Linked DNA regions of Homo sapiens: regions 2, 3, 4, 5, 6 and 7 are each linked to region 1. Evidence: promoter capture Hi-C in 16 types of primary human blood cells and fetal thymus (Javierre and others, 2016). All regions are on one chromosome and are shown on one strand. Each heading gives the region's core, a stretch centred on a gene start or on the middle of the fragment in contact. The rest is flanking DNA. Distances are from core to core; before and after follow the strand shown. Region 1 holds the start of RNASE6 (ribonuclease A family member 6). Region 2 holds the start of OSGEP (O-sialoglycoprotein endopeptidase). Region 3 overlaps PNP (purine nucleoside phosphorylase). Region 4 overlaps PARP2 (poly(ADP-ribose) polymerase 2). Region 5 overlaps KLHL33 (kelch like family member 33). Region 6 overlaps TEP1 (telomerase associated protein 1). Region 7 overlaps CCNB1IP1 (cyclin B1 interacting protein 1).

Region 1 (2,866 bases), core at 346-2,845:
GACCCTAAGGTTACTACAATGGATTATTATCCCTATTACTACTACTATCACCTTATATTTAAAACATTATCTGATTAAAAACGGAAACAAATAGAAAAGACATAGGATCCTTCAGTTGCCAGTGACAGAATCTATGTGTGAGTTATCATCAACTGTCTTTGAGGTATCAGTACTACCTCCAATTAAGCATAGACAATGGTTTCCAGGGGAATATATAAAGTCATGAGCAGAGTTTGAAGAAATGCTCCAAAGTCCCAAACGCTGTCCTTTCTTGTGGGCAAGGAAGTGGGGCCCCAGGGAGGCCTCAAAAGTTTTCTAGGGACTTAAAGTCAAAACAGTGTTCCTCTGAGTACCGGTCAACAATGCTTTGAAAGCGGATCTCAAACACACACTCATTAGAATGCAGCAGGAAGTGGTTTTATTGCTGTGAACACAGGGCAATAAAGCTTGGCAAAAGTTGCAGGGTTAGAAATCTGAATCTTTCTTTGCTGTCTTCCCTATTCCCTTCTCTCGAAAAGTACAGAACTACAAAGCAGAAAATAATCTTATTTCTTTTTGTCTCAACTCTGGTCTGGCATCCTAGGCACTCGAATTCTCCAAACACCTTTCTTCTTTCTTCTACGGGAACAAGAAAATCAACAAAAGAAAAGAAAACATGGATGCAATTGTAACAGAAGCTATGTCAAATGAAAGGAAATGCAGTGGATGCCTTAGAGAATACTATCTAAGTGTACAGGAACCAACTTGTAGGGGGGATCGCTCTTCTGAGGGGGGTCACAGGCAACAATGAAGAATTTGTACTGGGCAGCAGCACTATAGCGGCACTGGGGATACTTTCCTGAAGTGAGTCTGCAGTCAGTCATGTTGACAGGCTTTGAGCTCTGGTGGCAGTTGTGCCGACGATTTTTGCAGACAATGCTGAGCAAATCACAGACAGCAGCCACATTCTGGAAAGAGTCATGCAGAAAGGTATTTTGATGCTTACAGTGCTGGGTATAATTGTTGATGCCACTCATTGCCCTGTTGCATTGGAGAGGACTTGGCTGTATATGCTGAATTTCAAACCAGTGAGCCTTGGTGAGACGCTTAGGCCAAGCATGAAGTGGACACACTGGTCCCCATAGAACCAGCAGCAGTAAAAGAAGAGGAAAGCATAGCACCATCTTTTCTGTGTAGAAAGAGAGAAGATAGTTATAGTAGGAGAAGCAATAAGAGCAAAATTTTTAATCATAACTATTTAGATTTTTATTTTGCCTTTTAAGATTTTACAGCTCCCTTTAAAATCTTCTTTCTCACATAGTCTCACAATTCTATGAAGAACCTGAAGCCCAGGAAACAGAAATATGACCTCTCCTTTGATTGGCATATCCCATTTTCTTTCACAAGTACTCATGCATTTGATGGCTGTCATATCAGAAAGTTTCTTCCCTCTTCCCTCCTGAAATATTTACCCTCTATCTGACCACTACCTCCCAGCCGTCTTTACTGCTCTACTCGCTCCAGCCCTGAGGCTTTCTTTCTTACCTGGTCTCAGTGTTGGGGCTCCTGCTGAGAACAGAGGCTGTGATTAGTCCAAAGCTCAGAAGCTGTTGTCTGCCTTTCTTCTCTAACCCTTCGAGCCCTGTGTGTATAGGGAAGGGGAAGAAATATTCTGAGCTTTCAGAAGGAGAATCCTAGGGTTTGGCAGATTAACTTCTTGTGCAGAGTCTGGATTAAACTCTTAGACTTTCACACCTGTTCTTTAAAACAGTATCATTATCACATGTATACAGGAAGGCTAAACCAACTTAAAGAAACAACATGACTGAAAACTCACAGTTTTGAGGAACTGATCACTTCCTGATATGGAATGAGTGCTTCCTGCCTCATCTGAGGCTTCAGTGTTTTTTTTTGAAGCTTTATGATTCCTGTTTCTTAAGAGAAAATATGTCACATAAATATGATATAATGCCTGCCACATACTTGGTAATGTTGTAAGTTCCTACAACAGAAGTGAATACATTATTCATTTATGCATATACTTATTGGGCCAGGTACTAGGCTACACAAATTCAGGAGCTCATGAGTTTTTTTTTTTTTTTTTTTTGAGACGGAGTCTTGCTCTGTCGCCCAGGCTGGAGTGCAGTGGTGCGATCTTTGCTCACTGCAAGCTCCACCTCCTGGGTTCATGCCATTCTCCTGCCTCAGCCTCCCGAGTAGCTGGGACTACAGGTGCCTGCCATCACGCCCAGCTAATTTTTTTGTATTTTTAGTAGAGACGGGGTTTCACTGTGTTAGCCAGGATGGTCTCTATCTCCTGACCTCGTGATCTGCCAGGAGCTCATGATTTAATGAAAGAGATTAGAGACAGGCAGGTAAGTATATAGACAAGTAGATTATATTAATATAAATAGCACTTACAGTGTGATGGAGGACACTGCAGGAGGCTACGGGAAGATAGTAGAGGGGAAGGATTGTTGGAGGGCACAACACCTGAACTGAATTTTGAGGAATAATTAGAAGTTAGGTGAAGAGAGTGTTAAGCGCCTCCCAAAGACAGAATTGTGTATGAAAAGACCTGTAAGCCTGAAGAAGAAGGCCGAATTTAGGATATTTGCCTCTTGAATCTGTTCTTACCTTTTCACTGGTACTGCAACACCCTTATTCAGAAACTCATTGTCTTATGGAGGGCTCACATAAAAGCCTCCCACATGGACTCCTTGCCTTGTTTTTTTCTCCTTCCAATCCATTCTACATATTACTTCCAGATTAGTCTTTTTTTGAACAAGATATAATAGTACAACACTCTTGCCCCATGCTTTTATGGCTCCAAATGTCTGCAGAATAAACATAATGTCTGTTTATAGCAAGGTTGCAGGATACAAGG
Region 2 (3,110 bases), core at 297-2,796, 330 kb after region 1:
ATAAAATGGAGGAAGTATAGTGAAGAGGTTTTTGCAACATTCTGGGAAGAGGAGAGAACACTAAAAAAGAAAATGGCAATGGAAGTGAAGGAACAGACATTTAGGAAATACAACTGGCAAGACTGGGGAAGCCCCACAGAAAACTACGGGCAGGAGAAAAATAAAACAGCCTGAAGGCTAAACGGAGAAAAGGGGTGACTAAACCCTAAGACCATTCAATACTAAAAAATGTCTCTTTCCCTCAAATTCCACTCACATCTAATCCTTTCTTCTTAATCCAGGCTCGAAGCCCATCCACATTCCAAGAGCAGATCTTGAGTGTGGCAGGTTTGCCACTGGGTGAGGTTTTCTGATCTGGGGGGTCCTCATACAGGGCTGGGCCCTCTCCTGCTGCCTCTTTGTCATTTTTCTTTGCGGCCGTCTTACTCTTCTTGGCCTCTGGCTCTATAAAATGAGTAATATATACTGACAAAAAGCTGGTGGTTTCCAACTGCGATCCGGCGTTAACTATAGACCCAACGAAAGCCTACGGTTCCTGCGACTTCTTCACAAACCCCTGCAAAAATGAGTCGGCCCGTACTTACCGTACATCAAGGGAATGACAAACACCCCCGCCGCAGCTTCTAGGAAGAAGGGCTGATTTCATTCCCTTACCTGTCCTGAGCTCATCCCCGTCTTCCGCCACCGCTCCCTTTTTCCCACGCTTCGGCATTCCCGTTACGAACGCCCTTGGGCAGCTGTACCGCGTCACCCACCGAAGCAATATTTTTACCGCGTTGCCTACAGACGCAAAGAAATCATGAAACCAGCTAAGGCTGGGGAGAAGACTCCTCCCAAGAGCGTCCCCGCACCAGGTCCCGCCTTTCAAACCACGTTATCTCTAAATCCTTTCCCCGCCTCCGTGCATCATAGGCCCTTCAGCCCCTCACCCACGAAACTAGATCATTTCATAGTGCCTTGTACCCTACTCGCGAGATCTGCCCTCCAGCCAATTGAGGATCTTAATTAAGGGTCCTGACTCAAGCTTGCCGTTCAGACTGCCAGCGAAGCCCCTCTTATGAGCAAAAGAGCAACCCCGTATCTGCACCGGCCCGATGGCAGCCTAGCTCCTCCTAACCCGAGCACAAAGAAGGGTGCACGCTGAGCCCCCACGTGGGTAGCGGACCTGGTCACGTGATCAGAGGCGCGCTTGTCGTGGCCGAAGAATGCGCGTGATTGGTCTGTCTGACACCACGTGACGGAGACGCTTAGCCTCGCCTCCCTCCTCTAATTCTCTAGGACACTTAGGTCCCCAACCCTCCCTCGGGCTGTTTATCGTTGTGCCAGATGCACAGCACATTGTGTGACACTGACTTAAGATTCTAACTATGTGCAAGAGGGAAAAAAACAGTGGAGAAGGCTGGGCTGGACCACGGGAAAGAGATAGGAAAACGGATACGAATGTAAGGCACAGAGTTGGCTCGGCGTCCCTGGCAGTTAGGAAGACAGGTCCCTGGAGGGGCCTTGGCGGGTCTCCGCTCGCGGGAGTTCCGCGGTGTCTTTCCCAGTGCTATCTGCAGGCTGGCCAGCTTCCTCTGCGCTCCGGAAAGCTGCGGCCCAGCGCGGACTAGTGAGGACCTCCACAGCTCCTGACATTGCCAGGAGTCCTGTCGGCGTTTTCTCCCAGCCTCCGCCATGCCGGCGGTGCTGGGTTTTGAAGGCAGCGCCAATAAGATTGGCGTGGGCGTGGTGCGGGATGGCAAGGTGCTGGCGAACCCGCGGCGGACTTACGTCACGCCTCCTGGCACAGGTTGGTGAGTAGGGGACTTAAGAGTTTTCCGCGCACTTCCCCGCACAGAATCAGCCTTCCATCTTCCTAAATACTAGTGAGGTGCAGCTTTCGATCCGAGTCTCATTGAAATTATGTGACATTATTAACGTCACAAGGCTGATGACTAGAAGAGTTACAGGCACTTGGACGTGGATCTGATGAGTTCATTTACCTTTTACTGAGCGCATTTTATGTGCTAAGTATTCAGAAATAGATGTTATACTGCTGTGGAGTCAGACATATAAATAGATGTTTATACTACAGCATGATAAACAGTATAATAGAGATGGACTCGAAATATTCTGTTTAAAAAACGCTTAGCAGGAGTATAGATTCCAGTTGCCCTGAATATACACTCCCTTTTTAAAAAAAAATTATTTTTTGAAATATTCTAGGATGAGTAGAGAGATGAGAGTGGAAAGACTCCCGGCTTACATGTCAGACAGAACTGGCTGGCTTTGCTATATTCATATTAAATATTTTTGTTTTGGACATTTGGTCTTTATTTTTTATTTTATTTTATTTTTTTGAGACAGAGTCTTGCTCTGTCGCCCAGGCTGGAATGCAGTGGCACGATCTCGGCTCACTGCAATCTCTGCCTTCCAGGTTCAAGCGATTCTTCTACCCCAGCCTCCCAAGTAGCTAGGACTATAGGTGTGCGCCACCACATCCAGCTAAATTTTGTATTTTTAGTAGAGTCGGGGTTTCCACCAGGCCAAGCTGGTCTCGAACTCCTGACCTCAGATGATCCGCCCACCCCAGCCTCCCAAAGTGTGGAAATTACAGGCATGAGCCACCGCTCGGGCCTGGTCTTTGTTTTTAAAATGGGAATAATACCTGTATCATTAGGTCTTGAAGATTAGATGAAAGTACCAAACACGGCTGGGCGTGGTGGCTCACGCCTGTAATCCCAGCACTTTGGGAGGCCAAGGCAGGCAGATCACCTGAGGTCGGGGTTCGAGACCAGCCTGACCAACATGGAGAAACCATGTTTCCACTAAAAAATACAAAAAATTAACTGGGCGTGGTGGCGCATGCCTGTAAACCCAGCTACTTGGGAGGCTGAGGCAGGAGAATTGCGTGAACCCGGGAGACAGAGGTTGCAGTGAGCCGAGATGGTGCCATTGCACTCCAGCCTGGGCATCAAGAGTGAAACTCTGTCTCAAAAAAAAAAAAAGTACAAAACACATTACAACTTTTAATTGATATTTTAAATAAGCTATTATATCTTGCTACTCTCCCCTCAAACACTTGCATACATAGGAGAGGGCAGCTGACTTGCATGTATCTGAAAAGCCTC
Region 3 (2,500 bases), core at 1-2,500, 310 kb after region 1:
CAGACAAATGACCTTCGGTGCAAAAAGGCTGGCAGGTATACTGAGGCAGCAGGGACGGAGAAGCTGGCACAGAGGGAAAGGCCATACTATGCTCTTCCATCTACTCAGCCACCCTTCTTTCTGAATCAAGCCCACTACAAGTCTGATATGAAACTACCTCCATTCTAGAGCCTGGCAAAAGTTAATAAAGCCTGTTTCTACTAACAGGCCCAACTCCAGTGTTGGATCCACTGAACACTGGCAAGCTGCATACTTATCCTTATGACAAAGGTTTAGAGAGGAAGGGGCCAGAGTGTACGGGGAAGTGCAAGGAAATAATCAAATTAGGGAGGGTAAAAGGGCTTGGCCAGGAGGGAGCCCAAGAAGAGTACTCAAAATGGGATTAAGCCCTTCCTGAGGGTGGTGCCCACCTAGTAAAATCCCCCTTATTACCTTACCTGTTCCCCAAAGACATTCAAAATGTAATTAAGACCAACTACTATGAAGGCAGAGATAAACTCAAATTTCCTTTTGAACCCTCATTCCTCCAGTTCCTTCCTCAGCCAAAGACTTAAGGGCTACATTTCTTTTTTGTTTTAACCAATAAAACACAATGGGACCACCCCTGGTAGAGGTCTACGTGCCATTCTTAGCTCCCTGGATCACAAGGGGGTTAATTCCAGACAAAAAACTAGATAAACTGCTGTACAAAAAAGCAGACCCAGTCCACAGTACTGGTTGTCAAAGGTTAAACCAGGACTGACTACACAAATTCTCAGCAGAAGCTTGTTAGAAAAACAGATTCTGGCACTCCAGCCTGGTGACAGAGTGAGACCCTATAAAAAACACACACACACACACACACAAAACCCCCACAAAAAACAGATTCTGAAGCCCATGTAATTTTGATTTTAAAACCAGGTTTAGGGGCTGGGCGCGGTGGCTCATGCCTGTAACCCCAGCACTTTGGGAGGCCGAGGTGGGCGGATCACGAGGTCAGGAGATCGAGACCATCCTGGCTAACATGTTGAAACCCCGTCTCTACTAAAAATACAAAAAAAAAAAAAAAAAAAAAAAAATTAGCCGGGCGTGGTGGCGGGCCCCTGTAGTCCTAGCTACACGGGAGGCTGAGGCAGTAGAATGGTGTGAACCCGGGAGGCAGAGGTTGCAGTGAGCCAAGATCGCTCCACTGAACTCCAGCCTGGGAGACAGAGCGAGACTCCGACTCCAAAATAAATAAATAAAAATAAAATAAAATAAAACCAGGTTTAGGAATTGCTGGTCTGGAGGGAAGCAGAATTCGACCTAGATTCTAGTCCCAATATTGTCTTTTTAGGCATGTAATTTGTGCTTTAAATTATTTTCTCAGGTATAAACAAGGGATGTAAATTGGCCCCATCTATCTTATAGGCTCAATCTGAAAATGAATTGAATACTTGCTAACAACTTCCAAAGACCTATGGCTCTGTTACACAAAGTATTTGAATCTTTCTCCTGCTTTCCACCTGCCTGTGGTCTTCTTCCTGTCCTTCCCCCTCCCTGCCTCCTCCCAGTTTCCTTTCTCTCCACCGAGGATCTTTGCTCTTCAGAAACCTCAGGGCACTTACCCAGAACCCCTACACTAGCAAGAATCAACCCGTGTTACTTTTCTCCCAGTTCCAAGTCCAGTTCTCTCACATCCATCTGGGAAGACCAAACGTTGCTTTCAGAGGTGGCAATGAGGTGTGACAGAGCTGAACACAACTAACCAAGCTTTCACAGGAAATTTTTTACTTGGAAAGCAGAGCCCGGGAAACCAGACATGATTGCACAATACACCAGGCTACCCTCAGGGAAGCAGTTGGATCAGGTAGGTTGGGGGCTGGTCAACGGAGCCACAGGACAATGGAGAGAAGCAATTAAGCTGGTAAAATGTTAATCAAATGGCATCCCCAAAAGGTGCAAAGGAAATGAATGTGTGAAGCTGCCGCCACATGGCATGTCTAGCCACATCTCACAGCACTTCCTCATTGGCTATCAGTCCCCTCAAGAACACCCTGGCTCCCTGGGCATCCAAAAGCAACTGTGATGCCTAATGCAGGTCACTTGGACTGGGATATCCAGGACCCAAGCCGAGAGAAGAGTTTTCAAAGGCGTGGGGTGGGGGAAGTGAGCACAGGACTGTTGCTCAGTTCGGTGACTGATTTCCGTCTCCACTTAGCAGTCACTTCCCACCGAGTTAATCATACTGCCAGTCTGGAAGGAAGGGAGGAGTGCAACTGGCAAAGGAGGTGAGTAATCTTGCCTCTAAAGGAGGAACTCCGAATTTGAGCACCAAAAGTACCTCGCAGCTTTACCCAGACCCTAGCATGGGAATTTATGAAGAGCGCAGGGGGTGAGGAGACCTCCTCCTGGTATGGAGTGAGGGATATATACATATACTCACTCTCCACTTGTTCCCCTAACACACACACGGAGACACACAACGGCTGCTTTTACGGAGTAGCTTAGACCGCACCGACCTGTCCCCTTCCTGCTCCGG
Region 4 (2,738 bases), core at 83-2,582, 430 kb after region 1:
AAAGCCAATATTATTGTACTCTGTTGTTCTGCACAGATAGGCCATAAGCATAAAAAAGCCAACACCTTCCTCTGACTCCCTCTTATAAGTTCTACAGCTGTACTTTCGGGCAAGGAGTGTCTTTCCAAACGCAAAGCTAGACTCAGACCTGTTATGAAGGTCCTCTCTGAAGGCTTCTTTCTCACCATCCTTCTCCACTTCAAACAAATCCAGCAAGGTCATGGTATAGTCGCTGTGTGTGGGAGCATGGGTAGATTGTAGGTACTGGGAAATCACCTGTGAAAAATAAGACAAAAAGGCTGATGTAGACTCTACAAGAGACTGAGCTGAACTGAAGAATTTGGGGATTCTGATATAACTTGGCAGACCTTTCTGCTCCCAAACAGTCTTACAAGGCAGCTAGGAAAAGCTTGGCCTTCCCAAATCCCTAGTACATAAAAAGTCTGCCCTAATTGACAATTTGCTCTTGACAAGAAGTAGTTAGAGAACAGTGGGATGGGGGAGGTGGTTAAGGGTGCAAGAATATGAAAATAAATGATCATTTTTCTTACTTTGAACTCATAACTTTCATGGTCAAGGGGGCGCAAGGCACAATGTAGGTTTCTATAGTGTTGGTCCAATGGGTGTTCTGGGCTTTGTAGCTCTGTTTTCACCAGCTTAATAGCAATTTCAATGTCTCCCAAAGCCTGAGAAGATGAGATATAGAATCAATGTGGGAGGACACTGGTATAAGGGATATAATACTTCTCAAATCATACATATCTCACCTCTAGTAATTGTATTTTTTCTGACAGTTCCTTCTGTGTCCGGATTAGTGGAGGAGTACGGAGTCTAAGAACAGAGATATAACCCATAATGAGCTTTCTGACATGTGGCTAAAAGGCGCATGACTAAAAATAGAAAATGACAGATAGGTCCTTTAGAAAACAGGTATGAGAAACAGGTTTTCCATTTGAGAGAGAAAGAGATCTGTAAAGAGATCTTAACTTCCAAATATATAAAATAATATTAAATATATACTCGGTATAAGATGAACTATGTGGATTTTGACTTTTGAGACTAGAGTTAAAATTATTTTTTATAAAATCATTTAAAAATAAGTTATATTGATATCAACAGGGAACAGTTGGATACAGTTCTATCTAGAAGCACAGGTAGACCTGTTGACCACTCAGGGTTATTTCTAGGTCACGGGGCTCTATAAAGCTATAAAAGAAATAGAAATCGGATGTAAACCAGAAAACAGAATCAACAAATGTAAAATGTTATTTTGTCTATCTAATATCACTTGAGTTCACAGAAATGGTGTTTGTGTGGTTTTAGTTACTCAAATAGGAAAAGGGGGTGATATGCCTGAAGGTGTTTTACTTGGGTGGTTGGATAGCTAGACCCATTCTCTCTTGGGTTGGTAACTTCCACTTTGTCAGAGAATATGGCTGTGGTCAAGCCGGGAGATTGCATCCCATATTTGTAAGCTGATTAAATAGGCTACCTATATATCATTTTGTTTCTGTACCTATTCAAGACGATCATTTTCTTAGGAATAAAAGATTTAAAAGATTATAGCTGCTGCTGATGGATACAGGGGATATGTATAGGTAGAAGAACAAAGTGAAGTAACAGCACAGGCCTTACCCAAAGTCATGCGGAATCCTGGTGTAGAATTCATTGCATGCTTCCATGAGAGCTCGTCCATGCTGGCCAGCCCGAATACAATCCTCAATCTTCTTAAGAGACTGGTAACCTGCCTTGATTTGTGCCACTGTCAGCTTCCCTGCAGGCCCACCCAGAGATCAGACTCCAAACTAGGATCCCATCTAGTGAACTGTACTTAACATCCTTCCCTAAAAAAGACTTTCATCTTTCAACTTTTTTTTTTCCTGTTTTTAAGATGGGGTCTCACTCCTGTTGCCCAGGCTGAGTGCCGTGGCACAAACACAGCTAAATGCAGTTCAACCTCCTGGGCTCCGGTGATCCTCCCACTTCAGCTTCGCAAGTAGCTAGATCACAGGCACACACCACCATGCCTGGCTAATTTTTCTATTTTTAGTAGAGATGGGGTCTCACCATGTTGCCCAGGCTGGTTTCAAACTCCTGGGCTCAAGCAATCCACCTGCCTTGGCCTCCCAAAGTGTTGGGATTATAGGCATGACCCATCACACCCAGCCTCAACTTTCAAAATAGTTCCTCTTCCCTCCATACAACCTGTCACCCCAAATCCCATTTTCTTCATTCAGTACTATGAGCAAGCTTTAAATCATAATGATAATAAAGTATCCATTAAAGGAGCTAGGAATTATAAGGAGAGAATGCAGAAGAAAATGTGAAGTCCTACCAAGTGGGGCTTTCTTGGTATTATACTTCATTTCCATCATCATTTCTTCCATGGCCTGAACATTACAGATCAACTTTATTAACTCCTGTACCCGAAGATCTAGCTGTGACTCTGGCTTCAAGGGAGATTTAAGAGATTCCTCTTTCTTTGTTTCCTCTTCATCCTATAGCAAAAAACAAACAAAACACAAGACAATCTAAGAAATCATCTCTAGATTCCTTATAACACCCAATATTATACAATGTAAATGCTTTGTAAAGTTTTTATATTGCACTGTCTAGGGAATAATGAGAAGCAAGGAAAAAAAGGCTGTACAGGTTCAGTACAGAAGCAATTTTTCAAACATTTTTGATTCTCAGTTCATTGAATCCATGGATATAGAGGGTTGACCATCCAAGTTCTG
Region 5 (2,830 bases), core at 331-2,830, 350 kb after region 1:
CCTGGGTTGGAGAGGCTCTGGAGCAAAGCCCGTCACTACCTCCTCACCCACCTGCCTGCTGTAGCCTTGTGTCCTGCTTTCCCTTCTTTACCAGCTGCCTGCTTGGCTGAGCTCCTGGATAGTGATGAGCTCCATGTGCAGGAGGAGTTTGAGGCCTTTGTGGCTGCACGGTGTTGGCTGGCTGCCAACCCCGAGACCCAGGAGTCAGAGGCCAAGGCCCTGCTGCGATGTGTCCGCTTTGGCCGCATGTCCACCAGGGAGTTGCGGAGGGTGCGGGCAGCCGGGCTACTTCCACCCCTGACCCCAGATCTGTTGCACCAGCTGATGGTAGAGGCTGATGTTCCAGGCCAAGAGAGACGGAGGGAGCCTGACCGGGCACTGGTAGTGATTGGCGGGGATGGGCTCAGACCAGACATGGCCCTAAGACAACCATCCCGAGCAGTGTGGTGGGCCCGGGCCTTCCGCTGTGGCGTGGGACTGGTACGAACTGTTGAGTGGGGGCAGCTGCCTGCCCTGCCTGCCCCCGGACGCTTCCGGCATGGGGCTGCAAGCCTGGCAGGAAGTGAACTCTATGTGTGTGGGGGACAAGATTTCTACAGTCACTCCAACACCCTGGCTTCAACTCTCAGGTATAAGCTTCTAGGAGTGGGCAGGGTGTGGCAGGCCCTAAGGTGGGCAGGGAGAGAAATTGCTGGCCTAGCCAACCACGGATGCCCAGAGTCCCTCTTCCAATCTCTTGTCCTACTGTGTCCAGGTGGGAGCCCAGTCAAGAGGACTGGGAGGAGATGGCTCCTTTGTCCCAGGCTCGAAGCCTTTTCTCCTTGGTGGCACTGGATGGAAAACTTTATGCCCTGGGTGGAAGACACAATGATGTTGCCCTGGACTCTGTGGAGACCTACAACCCTGAGCTCAATGTCTGGAGGTAAGCAGGCAAGGGGGCATCTGGGAGAGATTAGGAGACTTGGAATAGAAGGAGAGTTGAAGATGCTAGTTGCCTTATCTTGTGTCCTGTTCTCCCTTAGGCCAGCACCTGCACTTCCAGCACCATGTTTTGCCCACGCAGCTGCGATTTTGGAGGGCCAGTTGTACGTGAGCGGTGGCTGTGGTGGGACTGGCCAATACCTGGCCTCACTGATGCACTATGACCCCAAACTTGAGAAGCCAGGGACGTTTCTGAGCCCTATGGGGGTACCTCGGGCTGGCCATGTCATGGCTGCATTGGGTGGGAGGTTGTATGTGGCAGGTGGGCTGGGTGAGACTGAGGACCTGCTAAGCTTTGAGGCCTATGAACTAAGGACTGATAGCTGGACTCACCTGGCACCCCTACCCTCCCCCCATGTGGGGGCTGCAAGTGCTGTGCTGCAGGGGGAGCTACTGGTGCTCGGGGGCTACAGTCACCGTACTTATGCCCTCTCTCACCTTATCCATGCCTACTGTCCTGGCCTGGGCCGATGGCTCTGCCTGGGAACTCTGCCAAGGCCTCGGGCTGAGATGCCTGCCTGCATCCTGACACTGCCCGCTGTGCAGCACATAGCTTTGGTTCCCACCCCACACCAAACCAAACCTGCTGGGTGAAGAGGGAGCAACAGTGTATGGGGAGAGGAGGGCATAAGAAATAGCCTGAGAGAAGGACAGAGATTGTGGGGAGTGAAAAGAGGCTTTATTCTTGGTAGTATTTTATTCTCACACTGTGCATTGTAAACTGCTTTTGTACGTATGATCTCCGTTGAGGAAATGGTGGTTCCAGAACTCCTAGGGAAAACATATAGGGAAAGGGGAGGCAGCTGAATACCCAGGTGAGGAAAGGAGACTCGGGAGCAACTCCACAAGGCTTAGGGATTCTTAGGGAAAGGGCATCTAGTTTGAAAGAGAGTTAAGAAGCTTCAGTAGCCAAAGTGTAGAGACCATGGGAGGACAGTTGGAAAAATGGTTCTGACCCATGGATCATGGGAAAAATGTGGAATGGCCATCCATGAAAGAGTTTGAGGAGTGTAGGAGTAAGGACTGTAAATCGTTCAGCCCTTTTTTTCCTGGAACTTGCTCCTTTCTCCTCTCCCACCCCTGGGATGCCTAAACCTTCTTAACAATATTCTCTCCCGGGTAACTTTGTAGGCCTGGTCTAGCGTTTCCCAGCGAGACACCACAGGCTGCCCCTGAGAACCTCTTGGTTTCCTTCTGAGGCAGAAGCTCCCACATGGACATGCACGGCACAGGGGCCTGAGAGGCCTGACGGGCCCCCCAGGGCCATGTGGCAGGAGTGTTGTGTGGGAAAGATGATGGGGGCAGAGGCCAAGGAGGGAGAGGCCCACAGTGGAAAAACAGATGATCTGAGGTTTAAGGAGATGGGGTGGAAGAAGTCAGAAGCCTGTGTGCCTTCTTTCTTTTGGGCAAACTGAGGAATCAGGAGTGAAAATGAGACCGTTGTTGCCTGAGGTCTCAAGTGGTGAGAGGATGTGGGGGGAGAGAAGAGTGAGAAGCAGACAAGACTCAGAAAAGTCATTTCCCCCTTTCAGTTCCTTTCCCCCAGAGTTATTTTTAAATCCATTTCCCTTTATCTTGGCCAGGGAAGGTAGTCAGGTGCTTCCTCTTTCTCTCTTCCCCCATCCTGCTCTCCCCACTGCCTCTCTTTTTTCTTTCTCTTCTTTCTCCCTCACACAGTTATTAATTACCTACTGTGTGGCAGGCACTGTAGGAGGCACCAAGATACAGAGGTCAGAGAGCTCCTGACCAGCAGATAGACATAAACAAATACAAATTTTGAGTGGACTTACATGTATGGACGAGTCTTGCGAGAGCCCAGAGGATAGAGCAGTGAACTCTGCTCAGGAAG
Region 6 (3,112 bases), core at 1-2,500, 370 kb after region 1:
GGGAGGCGGAGGTTGGGGATCACCTGAGGTCAGGAGTTTGAGACCAGCCTGACCAACATGGTGAAAACCCTCTCTACTGAAAATACAAAAAAATTAGCCGGGCATGGTGGTGGGCGCCTGTAATCCCAGTTACTCGGAAGGCTAAGGCAGGAGAATCGCTTGAACTCGGCAGGCAGAGATTGCAGTGAGCTGAACAACAGAGCCAGACTCCGCCTCAAAAAAAAAAAAAAAAAAAAAAGGAAAGAGTGAGGTGGGTATTAATGTGTTAACAGGGCAAGGTCTCTGAGATATACTAAGTGCAGAATAGCATCTAACTTATGATCCTGTTTGTGTAAAGCAAAAGCAAAAGCAGTGGTGATGGTGAAGGCATGTATTTGCATATGCATAGAAACTGTGAAACTGTTAGTATAAAACTGTGAGCAATGTTTACTTCCAGAGAAGGGAACTAGAGATGGAAGTGGGGACGGAACTTTAACTTTCCATTTGTGGTTCAGCCGAATCTCCTTTCAAAAACTCCAGGGTGCAAAACAATAAAATGAGCAAAATAGTGAGACTGTCCTTTTAAGGATAGGACAGTCTCACTATGTTGCTCAAATAAACTGTCCTTATTTTTCTGTTTATTTTTGGCTTGAGATCTCTTTTAAAAAAAATCTGAGTCAATTCTGAGTTTCCCCACTCCTTTCCTTGGGGGCTTATATAGGGCAACGACATGAGCAAAGTGTATTGGGCACAGAAGCCATCATTTTTTACGTGTTTGTCACACTGACGTCCAGTGAGATATTGTTGTCCTTTTTGGCCCTGGATTGTTAGTCATTCAGGTCTTCTTGGAAGTGTTCTGTACTTTTGTCCCTAAGCTTTTTCACACTAAGTTTAGGTGGTTGACTTAACAATATTATTCCCAAAATATTTACATATGAATGAGAGATTAGCCTTTGTCCAAATAAGTAAGAAAATACATTCCTTTTTTTTTTTAAATAGAGGTCTCACTATGTTGCCCAGGCTGGTCTTGAACTCCTGACCTCAAGTGATTCTCCCACCTCAGCCTCCCAAAATGCTAGGATTACAGGTGTGAGCCACCACACCCAGCCAGAAAATAGGTTCCTGATGGTATAATTCAAGCATTCTGTTAGGCAGAGGTTTCTAATTTTCAGTTTATGGAGATCCTGGGAGGTCCATAAATGGGCTTCATAGACACTCTGAAAATTGAGCACAAAACAGTATATACTTTTTTTTTTTCTGTGAAAAAGCTCCATAGCTTTTACCAGATTCTCAAAAGCCTCTGAATCCCGCTGACCAGCAATTGTGGGAACAAGGCTAAAAGGGTCTCTCTCCTCAGGAACTTAATGGTCTATTGGGAAGAAAGACAAACAGGTGATGTGCTCTATGATAGGGGACATATGGGTGTTGTGAAAACAAGGAGAAGGCCACCTAAATCAGACTGGGGCTTGGTGTCAGCACAGGCTTTTTGGAGGAGTTGATGAAACTGAAGTCTGTAGAGTGAGAGGAAAGTAGCATTTGGCCTTGTAAAGGAGGGGTGGTATTGGTAGAAGAAAGAGTGTTCCAGGGATCTGCCTGTGCACAGGCCCGTAGTCAAGAGATACCTTGGCAATTAATAAGCTAAATAAAATTTGTATGATTGAAGCTTAGAGTGCTGAGGGTTAGATCGGGGTGTTAGTGAGAGATGATGCTGGGAGGTGACCGGAAGTCGGGTTTTGTGTATGATGCTGAAGATGCAGAGGGGAGCAAGACAAAGGAGCCCTTACCTTAAGGAGTTGTATTTCAGTAAAGAGAAACAATTAGGCTGGGTGCGGTGGCTCACGCCTGTAATCCTAGCACTTTGGGAGGCTGAGGTGGGTGGATCATGAGGTCGGGAGATTGAGACCATCCTGATGAACATGGTGAAACCCTGTCTCTACTACAAATACAAAAATTAGCTGGGTGTGGTGGCAGGCACTTGTAATCCCAGCTACTTGGGGGGCTGAGGCAGGAGAATTACTTGAACCCGGGAAGTCGAGGTTGCAGTGAGCTGAGACTGTGCGACTGCACTCCAGCCAGCAATAGAGTGAGACTCCGTTTCAAAAAACAAAAAGCAAAAAAAAAAAAAAAAAAAAAAAAACCACAAAGGAGAAACAATTAGCAAGTGGGCTAATAAGCAAACATGCTTAAAAAAAAAGGAGTCCGCCAGGCACAGTGGCTCACACCTGTAATCCCAGCACTTTGGGAGGCCAAGGTGGGTGGATCACAAGGTCAGGAGTTCGAGACCAGCCTGGCCAGCATAGTGGAACCCTGTCTCTTACTAAAAATACAAAAAAAAAAAAAGAAAAAAAAATCAGCTGGGCATAGTGGCGGGCGCCTGTAATTCCAGCTACTCGGGAGGCTGAGGCAGGAGAATGGATTGAACCTGGGAGGCGGAGGTTGCAGTGAGCCAAGATCGTGCCATTGCACTCCAGCCTGGGTGACAGAGCAAGACTCTGTCTCAAAAAAAAAGGAGTCTCACTATGTAGCTCAGGCTGGTTTTAAACTCCTGGGCTCAAGTGATCCTCCTGCCTCAGCCTCTGAGAGTCACTGGGATTGCAGGCTACCACATCTGGCTCTAGCAGGGAGGTCCTTTAGACAAATCTATATACAGTATGTCACCACATGGATTAGAGGGTTTCAACAAAGGTGGTGGTAGGAGGAATGGAGAGAATTGGATAGATCTGAGAGACACTGAGGGAGTAGAATCAATAGAATTTAGTAGTTTACTGGATAATAATAACAAATAATAATAGCTTCTATATTGAACACTTAGTGCCAGGCAATGCTCAAAGTGCCTAATATTTTTTTCTCATTTATTTCTATAACAACTCTGTGAGGTAGGCATTTTTTTTTTTTTTTTTTTTTTTTTTTTTTTTTTTTGAGACAGAGTCTTGCTCTGTCGCCCAGGCTGGAGTGCAGTGGCCAATCTGGGCTCACTGCAAGCTCCGCCTCCCTGGTTCACGCCATTCTCCTGCCTCAGCCTCCCGAGTAGCTGGGACTACAGGTGCCCGCCACCCTGCCTGGCTAATTTTTTGTATTTTTTTAGTAGAGATGGGGTTTCACTGTGTTAGCCAGGATGGTCTCGATCTCCTGA
Region 7 (2,857 bases), core at 185-2,684, 460 kb after region 1:
ATTAATGTTAAGTATTTATTAACTTAGATACATCTCCAGGAAGTGATCATATTGCAGTGCAAAGGGAATTGGCTAGGATCACAAAGTTAGGTACTAGTCAAATTAGAATATTTTGCATTTTTCAACTTTAAATGAGTTGTACTATTTTTTGTATTAATATTTCTACATTTGGCATAGTTAAAACCAGAATTCACACAGAAGGCTCAAACAGCCAAAAACAGATGTTAGGGAGTATATGGTTCACACATGAAGATCTCCTTTTTTTGGAACTGGTTTATACCAAAATTAAATTACCACTTTAAAGTTATCAGAAGATATTTTAGGAAATGTACAAAGGCCTAATTACTCCGAAACAGATGACAAACCTTGTAGGAAGTTGCACAGTTTTTGACAGTTTTTTGTTTGAAGGAAAAAGATTTGATATTATGGTTTGGCACTACTCAGGGGTTTGCAGGGTTTGATGTCCACTGCGTGGCTAATTGCATCTGTTACTAATTCATAATAGGTTCACAACATCTGGAAAGATGGCTACAAAAGACGGTATAAGGCTGGGCATGGTGGCGCACGCCTGTAATCCCGGCACGTTGGGAGGCCGAGGTGGGTGGATCACTGGAGGTCAATAGTTTGAAACCAGCTTGGCCAACATGGCGAGACCCTTTGTCTACTAAAAATACAAAAATTAGCGGGGTGTGGTGGCATGTGCCTGTAATCCCAGCCACTCGGGAGGCTGAGGCAGGAGAATCGTTTGAACCCGGAAAGCGGAGGTTGCAGTGAGCCGAGATCGCGTCACAGCACTCCAGCCTGGGCGACAGAGTGAGACCCTATCTGGAAAAGAAAAAAAAGCTTCATTAAGGTTTATATCCTGAGGACCCGTCTAGCTTTCCTCTTCAGGTTAATTTTTAATCTGAATTCTAACAGATCCATATAGATTAAGCAGAAAATAATTACCTAAAGCAGCTGCTATGGGTAAGCACAGAAGGGCAAAGAAAATGACAGGCAACAGCATTAGAGTAAAACTGGCACAGTGCAATCATTTAAACACTGCTAGCAGTTCCAGGAGAGCACGCAGGTAGGTCACCTCAAAGTTCTGACCCTCAATACTATCAATTAATTAAATAATTTTTTTTTTTTTTTAAAGACGGAGGGTCGCTCTTGTTGCCGTGGCTGGAGTGCAATGGTGCGATCTCGGCTCACTGCAACCTTTGCCTCGTGGGTTCAAGTGATTCTCCTGCCTCAGCCTCCCGAGTAGCTGGGATTGCAGGCGTCCACCACCACGCCCAGCTAATTTTTGTATTTTAGTAGAGAGAGGGTTTCACCGTGTTGGCCACGCTGGTCGGGAACTCCTGACCTCAGGTGATTTGCCCGCCTCAGCCTCCCAAAGTGTTGGGATTACAGGCGTGAGCCACCGCGCCCGGCCCACTATCGCTTAATTTAAAGAGCTGTAATGCATGTTTGTAATGCAGACTCAAGGAAAATTATAATTTCCTTAAATGTGTATAGAGGATGTGTGAGAGTGGAAAGATGTCTATTCCAAGGTGGATAAAAAATAAAATGGTGGACTACCTCAACATGGAGGTGCCAGCTGTCCAATTACAGCTGTCACTCTGTTTCTGGGAATTTCTCCCGATTCTTAGCCGGAGCTGCGGCCCGCAACTCCCTCAGCCTGGCAGGTCCCAGGATGCTTCGGGGCAACCCCACGCATGCGCGCTCTGGCGTAGTTCCCTGAAGCACTCGCTCGCAGAGAATCCTGGAATCTTCGCTTGTGGAGCTGTGGAGGCAACGGAGTTTTTCCGCGCTTTTTCTTTCAGCCTCAGATTAAGTATCATTTGTTACTATTATTTTCTCTACTGAGCGTGGAAAGCTGGCTGAAAATTCCAGAGTGTAATTTCTGTGGGTCTGTTTCTCTAAAACTTGCCCCTCACGCAGCTTGTACAGAAGTTAGATTGGCGCTTACTCCCAGCTGGTGGAAGATTCGGAATTAGCTGCGCCTCTGCTGCGTGAGAGAGGGCTCAGCTTTAAAGCTTCCCAGCTCCTCTGCTTTCCCGCTGCCCCCTACTCTGCCGGATGTAAAATAGGCCTCTTAATCTTAACTGTGGCTGCCAGGTGACATACCTGAGGAAACTCACTCAGCGGGGCTATTGGGATAAAGGTGTGCGAGTGTTCTTTTCTATCGACCTGGAGGGCCAAGGCAACTTTTTTTTTTTTCCTTCTGGGACGGAGTCCGTCGCCGGCTGGAGTGCAATGGCGCGATCCCGGCTCACTGCAAGCTCCGCCTCCCGGGTTCAAACGAGTCTCCTGCCTCAGCCTCCTGAGTAGCTGGGACTACAGGCGCCCGCCACCACACCCAGCTAATTTTTTGTATTTTTAGTAGAGATGGGATTTCACCATGTTAGGCTGGTCTCGAACTCCTGACCTCGTGATCCGCCCGCCTTGGCCTCCTAAGGTGCTGGAATTATACAGGGGTGAGCCACCGCGCCCAGCCTATATATATACATGTTATGAGAGAGATTCTTGCTCTGTCCCCCAGGCTGGAGTGCAGTGATGCGATCTCACTTCACTGCAACCTCTGCCTCCCGGATTCAAGTGATTCTCCTGCCTCAGCCTCCCGAGTAGCTGGGATTAGAGGCTTGAATCACCACGCCTGGCTAATTTTTGTATTTTTAATAGAGACTGGGTTTCACCATGTTGGCCAGGCTGGTCTGGAACTCCTGACCTGAAGGGACCCCGCCTGCCTTGGCTTCCCAAAGTGCTGGGATTGTACGCTTGAGCCACTGAGCCTGGCCCACGTATATATTATTTTTGACGTTAGCAAGATCTGTAACCACCTTTGTCTTTACCTTTGTCCTTAAAGCGTTTT

What was found. The method cuts DNA at HindIII sites, captures the fragments that hold promoters and counts their contacts. A CHiCAGO score of 5 or more calls a contact.
Region 2: the fragment with the promoter of OSGEP here is called in contact with the fragment with the promoter of RNASE6 in region 1 in 6 of 17 cell types (naive B cells, total B cells, M2 macrophages and 3 more); the score reaches 8.8 in naive B cells.
Region 3: a fragment that was not itself captured here is called in contact with the fragment with the promoter of RNASE6 in region 1 in 1 of 17 cell types (M0 macrophages); the score reaches 5.1 in M0 macrophages.
Region 4: a contact is called between a fragment that was not itself captured here and the fragment with the promoter of RNASE6 in region 1, in 1 of 17 cell types (M2 macrophages). The highest score is 6.3, in M2 macrophages.
Region 5: a fragment that was not itself captured here is called in contact with the fragment with the promoter of RNASE6 in region 1 in 1 of 17 cell types (naive B cells); the score reaches 6.5 in naive B cells.
Region 6: a contact is called between a fragment that was not itself captured here and the fragment with the promoter of RNASE6 in region 1, in 3 of 17 cell types (naive B cells, total B cells and M0 macrophages). The highest score is 7.6, in naive B cells.
Region 7: a contact is called between a fragment that was not itself captured here and the fragment with the promoter of RNASE6 in region 1, in 2 of 17 cell types (total B cells and erythroblasts). The highest score is 6.8, in total B cells.

Annotation. Positions count from the first base shown.
Region 1 is chr14:20,779,997-20,782,862 of GRCh38, reverse strand. It overlaps RNASE6 (ribonuclease A family member 6), which reads right to left and starts at 1,595. Exons shown (of 2, transcript NM_005615.5): 1 at 1,525-1,595; 2 at 396-1,168. The coding sequence starts at 1,163. The coding sequence ends at 711. The region is part of intron 1 of LOC107984671 (a long non-coding RNA gene); the gene reads left to right. RefSeq lists an enhancer at 451-520. The HindIII fragment of the contact is 1,450 bases long and covers 449-1,898 here.
Region 2 is chr14:20,453,248-20,456,357 of GRCh38, reverse strand. It overlaps OSGEP (O-sialoglycoprotein endopeptidase), which reads left to right and starts at 1,546. Exons shown (of 11, transcript NM_017807.4): 1 at 1,546-1,789. The coding sequence starts at 1,675. It overlaps APEX1 (apurinic/apyrimidinic endodeoxyribonuclease 1), which reads right to left and starts at 1,132. Exons shown (of 5, transcript NM_001641.4): 1 at 964-1,132; 2 at 655-780; 3 at 257-444. The coding sequence starts at 712. RefSeq lists enhancers at 869-1,088, 1,509-1,598, cis regulatory regions at 1,150-1,155, 1,171-1,176, 1,189-1,221, 1,232-1,237, 1,234-1,275 and 2 more, promoters at 1,023-1,357, 1,022-1,559, 1,189-1,633 and a silencer at 2,896-3,110. The HindIII fragment of the contact is 3,687 bases long and covers 1,027-3,110 here.
Region 3 is chr14:20,469,756-20,472,255 of GRCh38, reverse strand. The region is part of intron 1 of PNP (purine nucleoside phosphorylase); the gene reads right to left. Among named protein-coding and RNA genes, the nearest start is that of PNP, 1.6 kb to the right of the region's middle. RefSeq lists enhancers at 2,159-2,288, 2,319-2,388. The HindIII fragment of the contact is 967 bases long and covers 767-1,733 here.
Region 4 is chr14:20,353,845-20,356,582 of GRCh38, reverse strand. It overlaps PARP2 (poly(ADP-ribose) polymerase 2), which reads right to left. Exons shown (of 16, transcript NM_001042618.2): 8 at 2,336-2,498; 9 at 1,636-1,774; 10 at 768-831; 11 at 552-686; 12 at 149-276. Among named protein-coding and RNA genes, the nearest start is that of PARP2, 12 kb to the right of the region's middle. The HindIII fragment of the contact is 1,841 bases long and covers 412-2,252 here.
Region 5 is chr14:20,427,594-20,430,423 of GRCh38, reverse strand. It overlaps KLHL33 (kelch like family member 33), which reads left to right. Exons shown (of 5, transcript NM_001365790.2): 3 at 1-629; 4 at 755-922; 5 at 1,023-2,830. The coding sequence ends at 1,575. Among named protein-coding and RNA genes, the nearest start is that of KLHL33, 7.2 kb to the left of the region's middle. RefSeq lists an enhancer at 798-1,430. The HindIII fragment of the contact is 607 bases long and covers 1,277-1,883 here.
Region 6 is chr14:20,409,807-20,412,918 of GRCh38, reverse strand. The region is part of intron 1 of TEP1 (telomerase associated protein 1); the gene reads left to right. Among named protein-coding and RNA genes, the nearest start is that of TEP1, 2.1 kb to the left of the region's middle. RefSeq lists enhancers at 385-554, 1-580. The HindIII fragment of the contact is 788 bases long and covers 857-1,644 here.
Region 7 is chr14:20,316,752-20,319,608 of GRCh38, reverse strand. All of the region lies in intron 4 of CCNB1IP1 (cyclin B1 interacting protein 1), which reads left to right. Among named protein-coding and RNA genes, the nearest start is that of SNORA79B, 5.1 kb to the left of the region's middle. The HindIII fragment of the contact is 1,178 bases long and covers 846-2,023 here.